2 separate regions of the Homo sapiens genome follow, and region 2 is linked to region 1. The links are contacts of gene promoters, found by promoter capture Hi-C in human tissues and cell types (Jung and others, 2019). All regions are on one chromosome and are shown on one strand. Each heading gives the region's core, a stretch centred on a gene start or on the middle of the fragment in contact. The rest is flanking DNA. Distances are from core to core; before and after follow the strand shown. Region 1 holds the start of KDM2A (lysine demethylase 2A). Region 2 has its middle 17 kb from the start of RNASEH2C.

What was found. The method cuts DNA at HindIII sites, captures the fragments that hold promoters and counts their contacts. A contact is called where the count stands out against the background at its distance.
Region 2: a contact is called between a fragment that was not itself captured here and the fragment with the promoter of KDM2A in region 1, in 1 of the 25 tissues and cell types used here (pancreas).

What each region holds. Positions count from the first base shown.
Region 1 is chr11:67,115,952-67,123,254 of GRCh38, reverse strand. KDM2A (lysine demethylase 2A) reads right to left here and starts at 3,992. Exons shown (of 21, transcript NM_012308.3): 1 at 3,206-3,992; 2 at 1,897-2,021. The coding sequence starts at 1,938. LOC107984341 (a long non-coding RNA gene) reads left to right here and starts at 4,907. Exons shown (of 2, transcript NR_160735.1): 1 at 4,907-6,021. RefSeq lists silencers at 2,851-2,940, 3,466-3,605, 3,786-3,855, 3,996-4,435, 4,616-4,895 and 2 more and an enhancer at 4,506-4,555. The HindIII fragment of the contact is 11,710 bases long and covers 1-7,064 here.
Region 2 is chr11:65,733,910-65,741,212 of GRCh38, reverse strand. No RefSeq gene overlaps it. Among named protein-coding and RNA genes, the nearest start is that of RNASEH2C, 17 kb to the right of the region's middle. The HindIII fragment of the contact is 9,114 bases long and covers 176-7,303 here.

The sequences.
Region 1 (7,303 bases), core at 2,743-5,242:
TTGTTAATCCCAGCACTTTGGGATGCCAAGGTGGGAGGATCGCTTGAGGCCAGGAGTTCAAGACTAGGGTGGGCAACATAGCAAGACCCCGTCACTAAGAAAAAAAAAAGTCTGAAAATTACCCTGGCATGGTGGCACACGCCTGTAGTCCCAGCTACTCAGGAGGCTGGAATGGAAGATTGCTTGAGCCCAGGAATTTGAGGCTACAGTGAGTTATGATCACATCACTGAACGTCACCCTGGGCAGAGCAAGATCCTGTCTATAAAAATAAAAATAAAAGGCCAGATGCAGTGGCTCACACCTGTAATCCCAGCACTTTGGGTGGCCGAGGCGGGCAGATCACAAGGTCAGGAGATCGAGACCATCCTGGCTAACACAGTGAAACCCCGTCTCTACTAAAAGTACAAAAAATTAGCTGGGCGTAGTGGTGGGCGCCGATAGTCCCAGCTACTCGGGAGGCTGAGGCAGGAGAATGGTGTGAACCCAGGAGGCGGAGCGTGCAGTGAGCAGAGATTGCGCCACTGCACTCCAGCCTGGGCAACAGAGCCAGACTCTGTCTCAAAAAATAAATAAATAAATAAATAAATAAATAAATAAATAAATAAATAAAAATAAATAAAAAATAGGCCATGGCCAGGCGCGGTGGCTCACGTCTGTAATCCCAGCACTTTGGGAGGCCAAGGTGGGTGGATCATGAGGTCAGATCGAGATCATCCTGGCCAACATGGTAAAACCCTGTTCTCTACTAAAAATACAAAAATTAGCTGGACGTGGTGGCACATGCCTACAGTCCCAGCTACTTGCAAGGCTGAGGCAGGAGGATCACTTGAACCCAGGAGGTGGAGGCTGCGGTGAGCTCAGATCACGCCACTGCACTCCAAGCGTGGGCGACAGAGTGAGACTCAATCTCAATAAAAATAAATAAATAATAAAGAAGTCTCTTCTCAAAAAGAGTAAGGATCACTAGAAAATGTATTCGAGAACCATTCTTTTTCTCCTAAATTCAGTCTAAAATGCAGAGCCAAATAAAACCACCATAAATTCCTTTAGTAATCTTCTAGGCCTTTCAGGTCAGCAAATTTCACATACTACATACAATTCTGTCGCTTTCCTCATAGCCCACTCTTCAAACACAAATTCAGATTTTTATTAATACTGTGAGACTACTAATAAAGCTCTCTTTGGCTAAGAAAAACAAAAATTGAATTCTTAAAACTCCAATAGGGAAACCTTACGAGGAAAGCATGGCTTAAAGGATCCAAGTGTTCATATACAGATATAAGCCAATCCTTTCAAATCATGTCTAAAATTTCTTTCAACAAGATCTATCTCGTACATTCCTCCCAAAACACAGAACTTTATCAGCATCCAGTATTCTACCTACTTGTCTTCAATCAATCCCAACAACCCTTCAAAGCTACCAAAATGTTAATTTATAAAATAAAAGAAAATAATCCATAGTTCTCCCCGCTCAAAGTCACAAATCCTGGGACAACAAAATCTTAAAAAACGTATTGAACTATCCTTCCTCAAACAGCTTTGCCCCCAAAATTTATATTCTAATCTAACGTAATCAGATGTATTACAATGTCAGTACTGTAAAATCAGGAATCTTTGTCACATTGTAATCCACAAAATCCTTTGGTATACAATGGTTTCTATAAAAGCTAAAGGCTACATATAACTCCATTTCCAAACAAGATAAATATATAAAATATAAAACATGTTTGGCCAAAAGCCAAATTCGATATTAATACACCTTTCCCCCTCCTCTGGTGCACAGAAAAGTCACCCGAAAAGTTTTAATCACAGATTCACAGTATATTCACAACTGGAAACAAAATAGTTATCCTACTTTAAAACTGGAGGGTGTGGTGGGGGGAGAAAATACTAACCAATCTCTGGCTGTAACGAATCCTTTCTTCTTCGGGTTCCATCTCTCACTCTTCTGTTGAAATTACTGTAAAGAAACCACTCCAGGGCTGCCTTCCTCTTCCTCCTTAGGAACCAGATTGCAACACTAAAGAATAATGATATAAGCAGAAATGAGAACTCATTCTCAAACTTGTGCTTTCTGTTCACGGAAAGGAGTATTTAAGGTAAGTGTTAAAGGCTCTCTGAAAAATCAGGTTCCTCTTCATGAGTTTGGGACCTTTCTGCTCTTGGGCAAGTGGTTCCATGTCATGTTCAACATTAATCACATTACAACTGTCGGAGGCCTAGACGAAACGAGATGTTGGTTTCAGTTCCTTGTGGAAGGGCCACACCACCAGTTTCTCCCCACAGGATTACAACTAGCAAGGATCTCCTTCATGGCAGCATCAGCAAGAAAAAAAAAAAGCCCAGGACTTTTATCTCCAGAGAGCTGACCAGGTGAAGCACCACTGAACTAATCCAGATCCTAACCAAATTAGTTCTCTCTCACCGGTAATCAGAAACTAAAGGAAAGAAGGGCAAACTGACTATGTAAAAAGAGGACAAAAAATTAGGATTTAAATGACCCCAAAACAATTTCCCATACCCCTCCTGTAAGGCCGTGCACAATCGTCGCCTTCCTTTCTAGACTCCCCGGATCTTATCATTCCCAAATCTACCCTCCACCCCAACACAAGATGTGCACAACTCTGAAACAAATTTCAGAGGTGCAAATCAAGGACCAAAATTCCATCTGATCTTTTTGGATAAAGTAATAAAATAAACGATTGCATCTAAGGATACAAGGAAAATACATCTTGTCCAAAAATTAAATAAAAGACCGGCCGGCGCGACGGTCAATCCGTAATACCAAGAAAGGGTTTTCTTTTTTCTAAATATTCTCGTGGATAATGGCTTCCATTGAGAACACAGGTTCCCCCCGTTTTTGTCACTACATTACAGCCACGTTAACAGCATCCTTTCAAAACTGCTACGAGACCAGAGGACCCGATGACACAGTTTGCAGAGCAGTTAGAGGCAGAGCCCTCCCGGAGGAAGCCCTGGCCCGAAGTCGGGAGGGAAACCGTGCTTGCACCCCCTGGGCGACGACCGCCTGGGCATGGAGCAGCCAGGGCCGGAGAGGAAAAAGGGCGAATCTCGCTGGGCTCCCCCAGGAAAAGGCGTTTCAATGGTTCACCCATCGGAAAAAGAGATAGAAACTTTGCATTCAGTCTTTGGATAACACAGTCAACCAAACTTCCAAATGAGGGGGGGGAGGGGGAAACTCACCGGAGATTCTGCTCTTGAGTTCTTGTCCAAGTGAGAAGTAAAAGATTCCAAAGCTGAGAGGAATAATTAAATCCCAAACGTCGTCTTCGGTTTTTCCGTGGATCAACCCAGTATCCAGAGAGGGTCAGAGCGACCAGGAAAAGGGAGCAAACAGTTGCTGAATCAAACCTTCTCTTCTGGCTTTGGAGACCGGGAGTCGGAGGCGTCAGGAGAGAGGAGCGCGACCCCTCGGCGCCGAGCCCGGGGCGCCCCCGCCTCCCCCAGGCCAGCGGTCAGCAGCCCGGGCCCGAGCCCCGGGCCGGCCCCGGCCGCAGGGAGCGCCCTCCTCGCCGTGCCCTCGGCCAGCAGGGGCTGGTCGCCTGCGGGAGCAGCGGCCGATCAGCTGAGACCGGCCGGCCCGAGGCTCCCCGCGCCGCCCCGGCCCCCCGGAACGCGGGCCCCGGCCCCGGGGGGCGGACAGGGCGGGAGCGGCGCGGCGCGCCGGGATGGGGGCCCTGGCTCCCCTCGCGTCTCCCCCTCAGGTCTGGCTCCGCGCTGCGGGACGAGCCCCCCGGCTACTCCCCAGTCGCAGAAGAGGGATTCCGGGGGATGGGCCCCCTGGCGTTGCCCCTCCTCCCGGAGCGTCCCCTGCCCAGGAAAGACAGAGCGGCCACGGGCCCAGCCGCTGGGAAGGTGCTCCGAGAGCCGCCGCCGCCGCCGCCGCTGCCGGGGAGGGGTGTTGTTTCCCTCACACAGGAGGAGCCGCTGAAGCAGCCGCCGCCATTTTGAACCCGTCAGACTCTCACATACACACAGCTCCTCCGAGGCGCACTGCGCAGGCGCCACCTCCCCACCCCTCCTCCAGCTCGCCTCTCCACCCCCCCACCCCCTTCAGGCCTCCCTGCGCTTCTTACCGCTCTCCCGGGCGCGCGTGAACGCGCACGCGTCACTCCCCTCTAACGCGGACACACCGCCGGCGCGCGCACGCGCGGATGCGTCGGCCTCGAATCGCCCGCGCCCCGCGACGCCGACGCGGCTCCCTGCGCCCCCTCGCGTCAGGCCGCCCGCCCTCCCTCCCTCCCGCCAGCCCGCCGCCCCCGCTCCCCGTCGGCGTTCTTCCAGGGCTCGGGCCTGGCTGGCTGCTCGCGCCTGCGCGCAGGGCACCGATCCTCCTCCGCGCGCCCTCCCCCCACACACCCTCACACACACTTCGCCTCTGCGACCCCGCCCCTCGCGGCCAGCTGTGCTGGCCGCCCTCCCCCACCCCCCTGGGAGGGTGGTGACCCCCGACCCCCCACAAAGCACATCACCCCCCCCAAGCAGTGGGAGATCTGCGTCCCCTTCCCCTTCAACCGCCTTTGGCCCCAGGCTGCCCGTCACAGTCACACAACCTGAGGGCCGGGAGGCCTGGGCCAGGGCAACCGATACCCGCCTCAAAGCAGGGTCTCCCGGGGTCAAGCCGCCGGGCTGGGCCCGCGGGACCTGGGCTCCCGGCTCAGGCCTGCCCAGGGCGAGAGGGCGCAGGGAAGGGGCGCATGGCCGCCGGCTGCCCTCCCTTCGCGTGCCGGCCGGTGGGCCGAGGCCGGCTTGCCCGCCATTCCCGGGCAGGCCCCGGCGCCGCCGCCACGGGGCCCGTCTGCCCTGGGCCCGGGGGCTCCTCGGTGCAGCGGCCTGGCCCCGCCTCACCCACTGCTCGTCGCTCCGAAGGGGCAGGAAACAGGAGTAGCATGTCTGTCCTGGGCTCGGCTCCCCGGGGGTGCTGCAGGCGCTTAACAAGGGCGTCCACAGGTACCAGGCGCAGAAGCGGTCTCCGCGACGGCCCGGGGGCGGTGGCGGCCGGCGCGCCCACCGCCGGCCGGAGGCGCCCGGCGAGGTGGCCCAGGAAGCCCCCGCTCCTCGGCCACGCTCAGCTTTCCGCCGCGCCGGTGCCCCCGGCGGCCCGGGTGGGACGTGACCCCGCCCCCGGCGAGTCGGGGCGCCCCCCACGGAGGGGTGCGCGGGCCGCCCCCGGCCCCCGGCCCGACCCTGCCGCCCTGGGCCGTGGCGGGCGCGGGAGGCCCGGCCGGGAAGATGTCTCCTGTTGGTGCGCGCAGCTTCGCGCGGGGGTCAGCGACGGGGCAGCAGCCGCCCGAGCTGCGCCGGCCCTGCCCACGGACCGACTCCCGCGGCCCGACAGCTGCCCGACGGGCCAGCAGGCTCCGAACGTCGACGGAGCCCGGCCGGAGGTACCCGAGCAGTGCCATGCGAGCAGCCCAGCCGCGATCCGGGCATTTCCCCAGCCAATCTCTTGCTCTGGGGCCCGTTTAAATTCTAAATCCCACAAAGGACGGTGGCTGGGGCGTTACACATCGGGGTTGGCACTATTGGCTCCACTACGCCCTTGCTGAGCGGTGTCACACAAATCTTTTTCTCCCTGCCTTGGTTTCCCACTCTTTAAGCTCTGACTCCTGGAAGCAGGGAATGGAGCAGAGAGGTAGGGCATGGAGTGAATCATATAACCTGCATAAACAGCCATCAACTCTTTCAGGAGGACGTTAGCGAGACAATTAAAATAATGATACCTTCTAATTCTATCAAGGCTTGAACTCCAAGGTAAAAGCGCTACGTAAATGCAAGGTATTATTATTTATTACCACAGAAGGTTTTTCTGCATGCACAACTTGGGGAGTTTGTACAGACATTCTCTGCTTTGTTTCACAACATCCTTAGGAGACAAGCTAAAGTGCCTGTTAGCGCTATATTCATTTTAAAGATAGACAACTGAAGTATAGAAAGGTTAAAGAGCTTGCATAATTACTCCAACAGCCGACTGAAACATCTCACAAACAGCAAAAAAGGTTTGTTAATAAGATATCATCTTCTTGCGTTCTAGTCACTGGGAAATATTCTTTATTTTGATACCAGTTTTGTTCAGACTTCTTAGATTTTCAGAGCACTGATACGAAGAAGATAATCACAGAAACTGTATCAGATCTAAAGCCTCTTTAAATCTTTCCGACTATGGTAAAGTATATTTTAAAAGCAGCAGTCTCTCACACTGGTGCTACCAGATATGGCCCCATAAGCATCTGGCTCTCTGTAGTTATAGAAAAAGTCAGCAGCTCGTTTTGTTTGTTTTTTAAGCAGGAGAGAAAGCTTTTGCCATTGTCAGATTAAGTGTTGGGCCTTGTTGCTATTTGCAAAATAAACAGCTTTATTTCCTTCCCACTCACCCTTATAACCCAGGGAATACTTGGCGGCAAAGAGAAAGTCTCTAGGAGTAGCTCAACTTGGTCTTGCCCTTTTTCTTAACATTCAGACCCCCTTAAGTAATTAACCCTCAAGGAGGTGAGTTGCACACCCTTGGCAATCAGATACCTCCAAGTTTAATTCAGATGGGCATGCTGGGAGAACCCTAGAAAGGCTTTAGAACAGGCCGGGCGCGGTGGCTCACGCCTGTAATCCCAGCACTTTGGGAGGCCAAGGCAGGTGGATCACCTGAGGTCAGGCGTTCAAGACCAGCCTGGCCAACATGGCAAAACCCTGTCTCTACTAAAAAAAAAATACAAAATTAGCCGGGCGTGGTGGTGCATGCCTATAATCCCAGTTACATGGGAGGCTGAGGCAGGAGAATCACTTGAATGCAAGAGGTGGAGGTTGCAGTGAGCCGAGATGGCGCCATTGCACTCCAGCTTGGGCTACAGAGTGAGACTCCATCTCCCCGCCCCCCCCCCAAAAAAAGGCTCTAGAACAATAATAGTAGTACTTATTTTGAATGGGACTGCCAGTAGAGCAAGATTTGTCAGATTGCAGCCAGCTCTTTTGCCGTAGGAAACCATTTGTTAACTAGTCTGCGTTGGGGGAACGGGACATTTAAACAGATATACACAATGGTTTCTCCACAGGCAGGCTTTGTTAATAATCCAGAGCAGATATATAGGGTGAGATAAGAGGTAGACAGATGGCTAGTGATTCCTCCCGCCATCACAGTGGCTCTGATTGGCAAGGACAGATCTGTGAGGCTGCATTGCCCTAAAACAGCCATTTGCAGGGAGAATAGAGCTTGGGGGATTCCCCAACTATGAACTCTCTGGCTTCAACCCTGACAATGGTATATGGGAAGAAGGAAATAAAAATGCA
Region 2 (7,303 bases), core at 3,483-5,982, 1.4 Mb after region 1:
GAGATGGTGATTGGTGCTACAGCAATACAAGCTGCAGAGCTGTAAGACTAGCCAAAGGCTCTTTTAAGAGCCATTACCTTTCCTGGCAGGCAGTGGAGCCAAGTAGGCAGGTGAGCAGCCACAGAGCCACTGCCTTGTGTGGGACCCACCACTCTGACCAGCAGATCACTGGCCTGTGCGCCAGTACCCCCCATGGTAGCTGAGCCTGTTCAAGCTGAGGAAACTTGGGGAGGAGCCCTTAACCCAGGCCCCAGGTTGGAGACTGACTAGTCCATTTTGGCTCCTGCAGATGGGTGACTGTCCCCTCTGCCCCTTGATATTGAGTAAGCCAGGAAATAAGGCTTTGGGCATCTTAGATTGTCATTTCAAAGTCTCCCATGGCATACCTGACCAACTACGTCCTTGTCACTCCTTCTCTCGGTCCTTTCCCTAACATCTTTTCATTTTTCCATTGCCATTTCATTTATTTTTTATTTTAAATATTTTTCTTTTTCTTTTTATTTATGTATTCATTGTTTGAGATGGAGTCTCACTCTGTATCCAAGCTGGACTGCAGTGGCATGATCTTGGCTCACTGCAACCTCCACCTCCTGGGCTCAAGCGATCCTCCCACCTCAGCCTCCTGAGTAGCTGGGACCACAGGTGCATGCCACCACACTTGGTTAATTTTTTGTATTTTTGGTAGAGACAGGGTTTCACCATGTTGCCCAGGCTGGTCTCGAACTCCTGAGCTCAAGCAATCCACCTGCCTCAGCCTCCCAAAGTGCAAAGATTACAGGCATGAGCCACCATGCCCAGCCTTTTATTTTATTTTAATTTTTTCTCTGAAATGTATGTTTCATTTGTAGTTTTTGCTTTAGTTCCCTGATAAACTATTTGGGCAGTTGTTTAAGGCAGAACACTTGTCTTTGAGAGGTCCCCTGTTGTGTTGACCCTGGGACACCAGAGTCATGTTGTTCTGTGGCCCCAACCAGGCCTTTGAGGTTCACTGCTGGCTGCCCCCTGGGCACTCCAAGGGTTTTGGTATTGGTACTGTCTCTCAGGATTGTGGGATAGAGGCCCACCCTAGGGGAATCTCAGTCTTGCCTTTTCTTGTTTTCTGCCTTAAAGTTAAAGTTATTTTCTGTAACAGCATTTTCTTTTCTTGTCACTTCATTTACACTTTTCCTTCTACATTTTGCTTGATAAAAATACTTTCTTTGTCGTACTTCATCCACTGGAAAATGCCTATAATCCACTTTCATAATGCCTTGCTTATACCTCTGCAGGAAGTGAGAATCTAAAAGGGAAAAATAATGAGAGCCCAGTTGTTTTCCCTCTCACTAGACTTAGAAAAACCTCTGGCCAGGCGCAGTGGCTCACGCCTGTAATCCCAACACTTTGGGAGGCCAAGGCGGGTGGATTACTTGAGGTCAGGAGTTCGAGACCAGCCTGACCAACATGGTGAAATTCCATCTCTAGTAAAAAAATACAAAATTAGCCAGGCGTGGTGGTGCACGCCTGTAATCCCAGCTACTCAGGAGGCTGAGGCAGGAGAACTGCTTGAATCCGGGAAACGGAGGTGGCAGTGAGCCAAGATTGTGCCATTGCACTACAGCCTGGGCAACAAGAGCGAAACTCCATCTCAAAAAAAAAAAAAAAAGAAAAAAGAAAAAGAAAAGAAAAACTTCTATGTCCAGTATAAATCCTTGTTAGACATGGAGACAATGATGAACATCCCAGAAGACTTACCACTAGGGTGTCTTTTAGGCTGTTGGAGCAAATTCAAATTCAACCTAAAGAAAAAGAAACTCATTTTCTATTGTAGCACCACTTGGGTCCAAAACAAATTAGAAAACCAAGAGATTTGGCCTAATATATAGATTTGGTTCTATATATTGTGACGCTATTTTACAATTGGACTTATTCTATATAAAATAAGGAAAATGGGAGGAGGTCCTTTATGTACAGGCTTTTATGGTCCTTTATTGGCTCATATTACTCCCAGGAACCCGGAAGCCATGCCTAAGGGTTTCCCTCCTAGCTGTTCCCACTAGAAGGCCTACATCTTTCCTGGAGTCTCCTCAGTCCCCCAGTTCTGAGGAAGTCCACCCCAAGTTTATCAGGCACCCTTATCCAACTAGCCCCAGCCCATATTCCTCACTTCCCAAGGTAGTAAGCCCAACCAGTACCACCAGGAGTGGGGCCCCATATTAGCCTCCAAAATAAAACTTGTGTCCATTGTAGGAGGTAACCGATGGAAATGGGGTGATACTTAGAATACATGTTCCATTTTCTATGTCAGATTTGGCTTTATGCAAAAAATTTGGCCAGTTTTCAGAAAATCTAGAAAAGTTTATAGAAGAATTGGTTGACAATTTTTTAAATTTAACTTGCCGTGACTTGCAAGTATTGTTGTCTCCCTGCTGTGCCATGCCGGAAAAAAAAGTGGAGGAAAAAGTGTGTAGTTAAGCCAGCCAATTATGACAAAGTTAGAGAAATAACTCAGGGAAAAGATGAAAATCCCACTCTGTTTCAAAGTTGTTTGGTTGAGGCACTCAGGAAATACACTAACGCAGACCCAGACTTCCCAGAAGGCAAACTCTTCTGGTTATGCATTTTATTACTCAAGTTGCCCCTGACATTAGGAGGAAGCTACAAAAAGCAACAATGGAAGCTCAAACCCCTATGAGCCAATATTTAAACTTGGCCTTTAAAATTTACAACAATAGGGACAGGGAAAAAGAGTTGAAAAAAAAAAGACAAAAGAAACAGCTCTAGCCCAGGCAACATGATGAAACTCTGTCTCTACTAAAAATACAAAAAATTCGCTGTGCATGGTGGTGTATGCCTGTGGTCCTAGATACTGAGGAGGCTGAGGTGGGAGAATCACCTGAGCCCAGGAGGTTGAGGCTGCAGTAAGCTGAGATAATGCACTGCAACTCCAGCCTGGGCAACTGGAGTGAGACCCTGTCTCAAAAAAGAAAAGAAATAGCCAAAAAGTGCAATTGTTAGCTGTTACTTTAAGTCCCCTGCCACCTTAGAATTACCTATCCTGAGAAAGTGTCACAAGATCACCATCTGGGATGCCCAGATGAGAGCCCCCAACTCACTGGCTCCTGGTCCAGAATCAATGTGCCTACTATAAGCAAAAGGACCATTCACAATGAGAATGTCCTAACCATCCCCAGCAAACGAGGGAAAAAGCTCCCCGTCAATATTAGAACTAACCTTCTTCCATATGTCCCAATGAGCCACCTTGCTCAAGTAAATTTACTCAGATTCCTGGACCCTTGACCCAATGGACAGCTTTTTGCAGTGGAAGACAAGTGGCCACCAGAACATTTTTCTTTGGTGTCTCCACTGCTAGATGCTCTGGTAGCTCAAGGACTCTGAGACCTCCCCTTGAGCAACATGGTTTACCACCTCCCTTCCTTATTTGATGCTATGGGGTCCCTTCTCTGCCTCTTCCTGTCTTCCCTACGTATCTGGGCAAACAAAATGTATTGAGATAGACAGGTCCCAATTTTATAAGTAACTTGGATCCATCTGTCTTGTGTAGGTCACTTCATTTGTGTGATGGGTGTTGTGTTTAGCATACTATCAAATTGGCTTATAAATAAAAGAGAATTCATAAATTAAAAAATAAGACTAGTCTAAATTTATTAGTTTGAAGGGAATGTTATGTCTTCTAAAATTTAACTTTAAGATTTTTACCTAGATGAACCTCTGATGTTTGTAGCCTTTAGAATGGTTAGGATGGCTTTTAAACAGTGAGCTTATGTATAGTTGAAAATCTTAAAGCTGTGAAATAGTTCTCATCTATAGAGTGCCAATGTCTGATGAGCAGTTCAGAATTTCTTGCTCTTTAGATTTATATAAAATAAGCCAAAGAAAGTGTGTTTTTTATTGGGAAAAATAATAATTTTTGTCTAATTTGGAAGTTATTAAAAGAGAGGTTCAAAATATGAAGGAACCAGTAAGTAGAAAAGAGAGATATGAAGAAAGTTATGGATAGATGTACTTTTTGCAAGGAAGAATACAAAGAAGGATACAAGGAAGGATATAAAGAAGGATACAAGGAAGAATACAAAGTTATTTTATATGAGGAGGGATCTTGTGTAGTAAATTCTTATCCTAGAGTAAAATGATGAGTTCTTTAAGGAAGGGGTCCTATAGGACAAGTCAGAAAGTCCAAGCATGTTGTAGATGGTCCATGTGGGTCATGATGGGGTTTGTGAAGGGGAATTTTGTGTATGATTAAGCTTAAGCTGACTATGACTAAAGGAAAACTGTGGTAGACTTTCTAGAGAATGGTCTATATATTGGCAACAGGTTTTCTTAAGGTATTGATTTGCTAAATTACAGGAAGTTTTGCTTTTAATAATCTACCTGGTTTATTTTAAAATGTCTTGGATTCATGTCTCAGAGATTCAACTGTTGTTGTGTCTCACTACTTTCAATTCTTTCTCCCTTTAAGAAGGCCTGGGATGATGGCTCTTTCCATCAACCTTTTCATCAACATTGTGACTTTTTTTCCTCTGGTTCTGACTATTGGGCCCTGGTACTAAAATGTTTTGTCTTAGAGGTCTGCGAAAACAGTGTTTTCCCCGAATATAGCTTGATTCTATGCTGTTTTTTTTTTTTTTTTACATATAACCTTATTATTGGCATTTAGTTTTTGACTCTTATATTGCTTTAAAAGATTTTAAGGGCAAATGAGTGCCTGCTCACCTCCATTTCCTTCTGACCTAGGATGTTTAATTGGCTATAAGTCTTTTGACTCTAAGTCCCTTAGCCAAAGGGAATTCCAAAGAAGCCTTCAAAAAAAAAGAAGTCAGACCATGACAGGAAACAGGGGGCCAAACATGCCTCACTGTGCCACCCCTTAGAATTTAGGCTAGGCACAAAGGCCCTTCAAAAATTATAATAACAAAGTACTTCCCTTTCCCACATAGGAAAGAAATAGCTCCTCTGTTCAACCTGAACACCTAGTCTTACAAAAAACTTTTTGTTAAAAAGGATCCCCAGAGGATCAATTACAACCCAAATGGAAGAGCCCCTATCAGGTATTGTTAAGTACCTTCCCTGCTGTTAAACTTCAGGGAATCACTAGTTGGGTACACCTGTCCAAGATTAAATCTGTTTCTTATGAATCCCTGACGGCATAAGAGGAGGACACCATGATTTACACCTGTGAGCTCCTATAAGACTTAAAGCTGTTGTTTCACAAACACAAAGATAAAAAACATGATGCCATGGGCATAGATGCATTAATTTTCTCATCCTCCAAATTATAATTTTCCTGTTGACCTCCTACTTAAGTTTATGTCTTCTAGATTCCACATAAAGATGATGCTGGCACAAGGTTTCAACCCATCCCATCTTATGACCTGAAAAATGAAAATATCCTGTTGGACCCCTTAGATCAGGTATCCAGAGATTACCAGAGGCTAGGGGCATGGGAGAGTGGGAAATGGGAAGATATTGCTCAAAAGGTACAAAGTTTCAGTTAGACAGGTATATTAGAGTTCTCTAAAGGGACAGAACTAATAGGATAGATGTATATATGAAGGGGAGTTTATTGAGGAGTAATGATTCACATGATCACAAGGTGAAGTCCCACAATAGGCTGTCTGCAAGCTGAGGATCAGGGAAGCCAGTCCAAGACCCAAAACCTCAAAAGTAGGGAAGCCAACAGTGCAGCCTTCAGTCTGTGAACAAAGGCCCGAGAGCTGCAAACCACTGGTGTAAGTCCAAGAGTCCAAAAGCTGAAGAACTTGGAGTCTGATGTTCGAGGGCAGGAAACATCCAGCAAGGGAGAAAGATGAAAGCCGGAAGGCTCAGCAAGTCAAGTCCTTCCATGTTCTTCTGCCTGTTTTAATCTAGCTGTGCTGGCAGCTGATTAGATGGTGCCACGCCAGACTAAGGGTGGGTCTGCTTCTCCCAGTCCACTGACTCAAATGTTAATCTCCTTTGGCAACACCCTCACAGACACACCCAGGAACAATACTTTGCATTCTACAACATTTTTATATTACTGTATTGTATTAGAGATGGGGTCTTACTCTGCCACCCAGGCTGGAGTGTAGTGGCACAATCATGGCTCACTGTAGTCTTGAACTCCTGGGCTCAAGTGATCCTCCTGCATCAGCCTCTCCAGTAGCTGGAGCTACAGGTGTGCATCACCACACCTGACTAATTTTTTTTGGGGGGGTAGAGATGGGGTCTCACTATGTTGCCCAGGCTGGTCTGAAACTATTGGCCTCAAGAAATCCTCTCACAGCTGGGTGCAGTGGCTCACACCTATAATCCCAGCACTTTGGGAGGCCAAGGTGGGTGGATCATGAGGTCAAGAGATTGAGACCATCCTGGCCAACATGGTGAAACCCCGTCTCTATTAAAAATACAAAAATTAGCTGGGTGTGGTGGCACGTGCCTATAGTCCCAGCTACTCAGGAAACTGAGGCAGGAGACTCGCTTGAACCCAGGAGGTGGAGGTTGCAGTGAGCCAAGATCACGCCACTGCACTCCAGCCTGGCAACAGAGCAAGACTCCATCTCAAAAAAAAAAAAAAGAAAAAGAAATCCTCTCATGTTAGCCTCCCAAAGCACTGGGATTACAGGCATGAGCCACTGCAGCTGGCTATGAGGTGGACAGTTTTAGATCTTGCATATAAGTGAGATCATGTGGTATTTGTCTCTCTGTGCCTGGCTTATTTCACTGAACATAATGTTCTCCAGGTTAATCCCTGTTGTGGCAAATAATAGAATTTCCTTTTTTTTTTTTTTTTTTTTGACGCAGTTTCACTCTGCCTCCCAAGCTGGAGTGCAGTGGTATGGTCTTGGCTCACTGCAACGTCTACCTCCTGGTTCAAGTGATTCTCGTGCCTCAACCTCCTGAGTAGCTGGGATTACAGGTGCGCACCACCATGCCCAGCTAATTTTTGTATTTTTAGTACAGACAGAGTTTCACCAAGTTGGCCAGGCTGGTCTCAAACTCCTGACCTCAAGTGATCCGCCCACCTCGGCTTCCCAAAGTGCTGGGATTATAGGCATGAGCCACCGCGTCCAGCCAGAATTCCCTTTTTACGAAAAAAAAAAAAAGGCTGAATAGTATTCTGTTTTTTATATACACCACACTTTCCTTATTCTTTCATCCACCAGTGGACACATAGGTTGATTCCATATCTTGGCTATTGTGAATAATGCTGTGATGAATATGAGATTGTAGATGTCTCTTCAACATATTCATTTCAGTTCCTTTAAATATATACCCAACAATGGGATTGCTGGATCATATGGTAGTTCTATTTTGAGTTTTT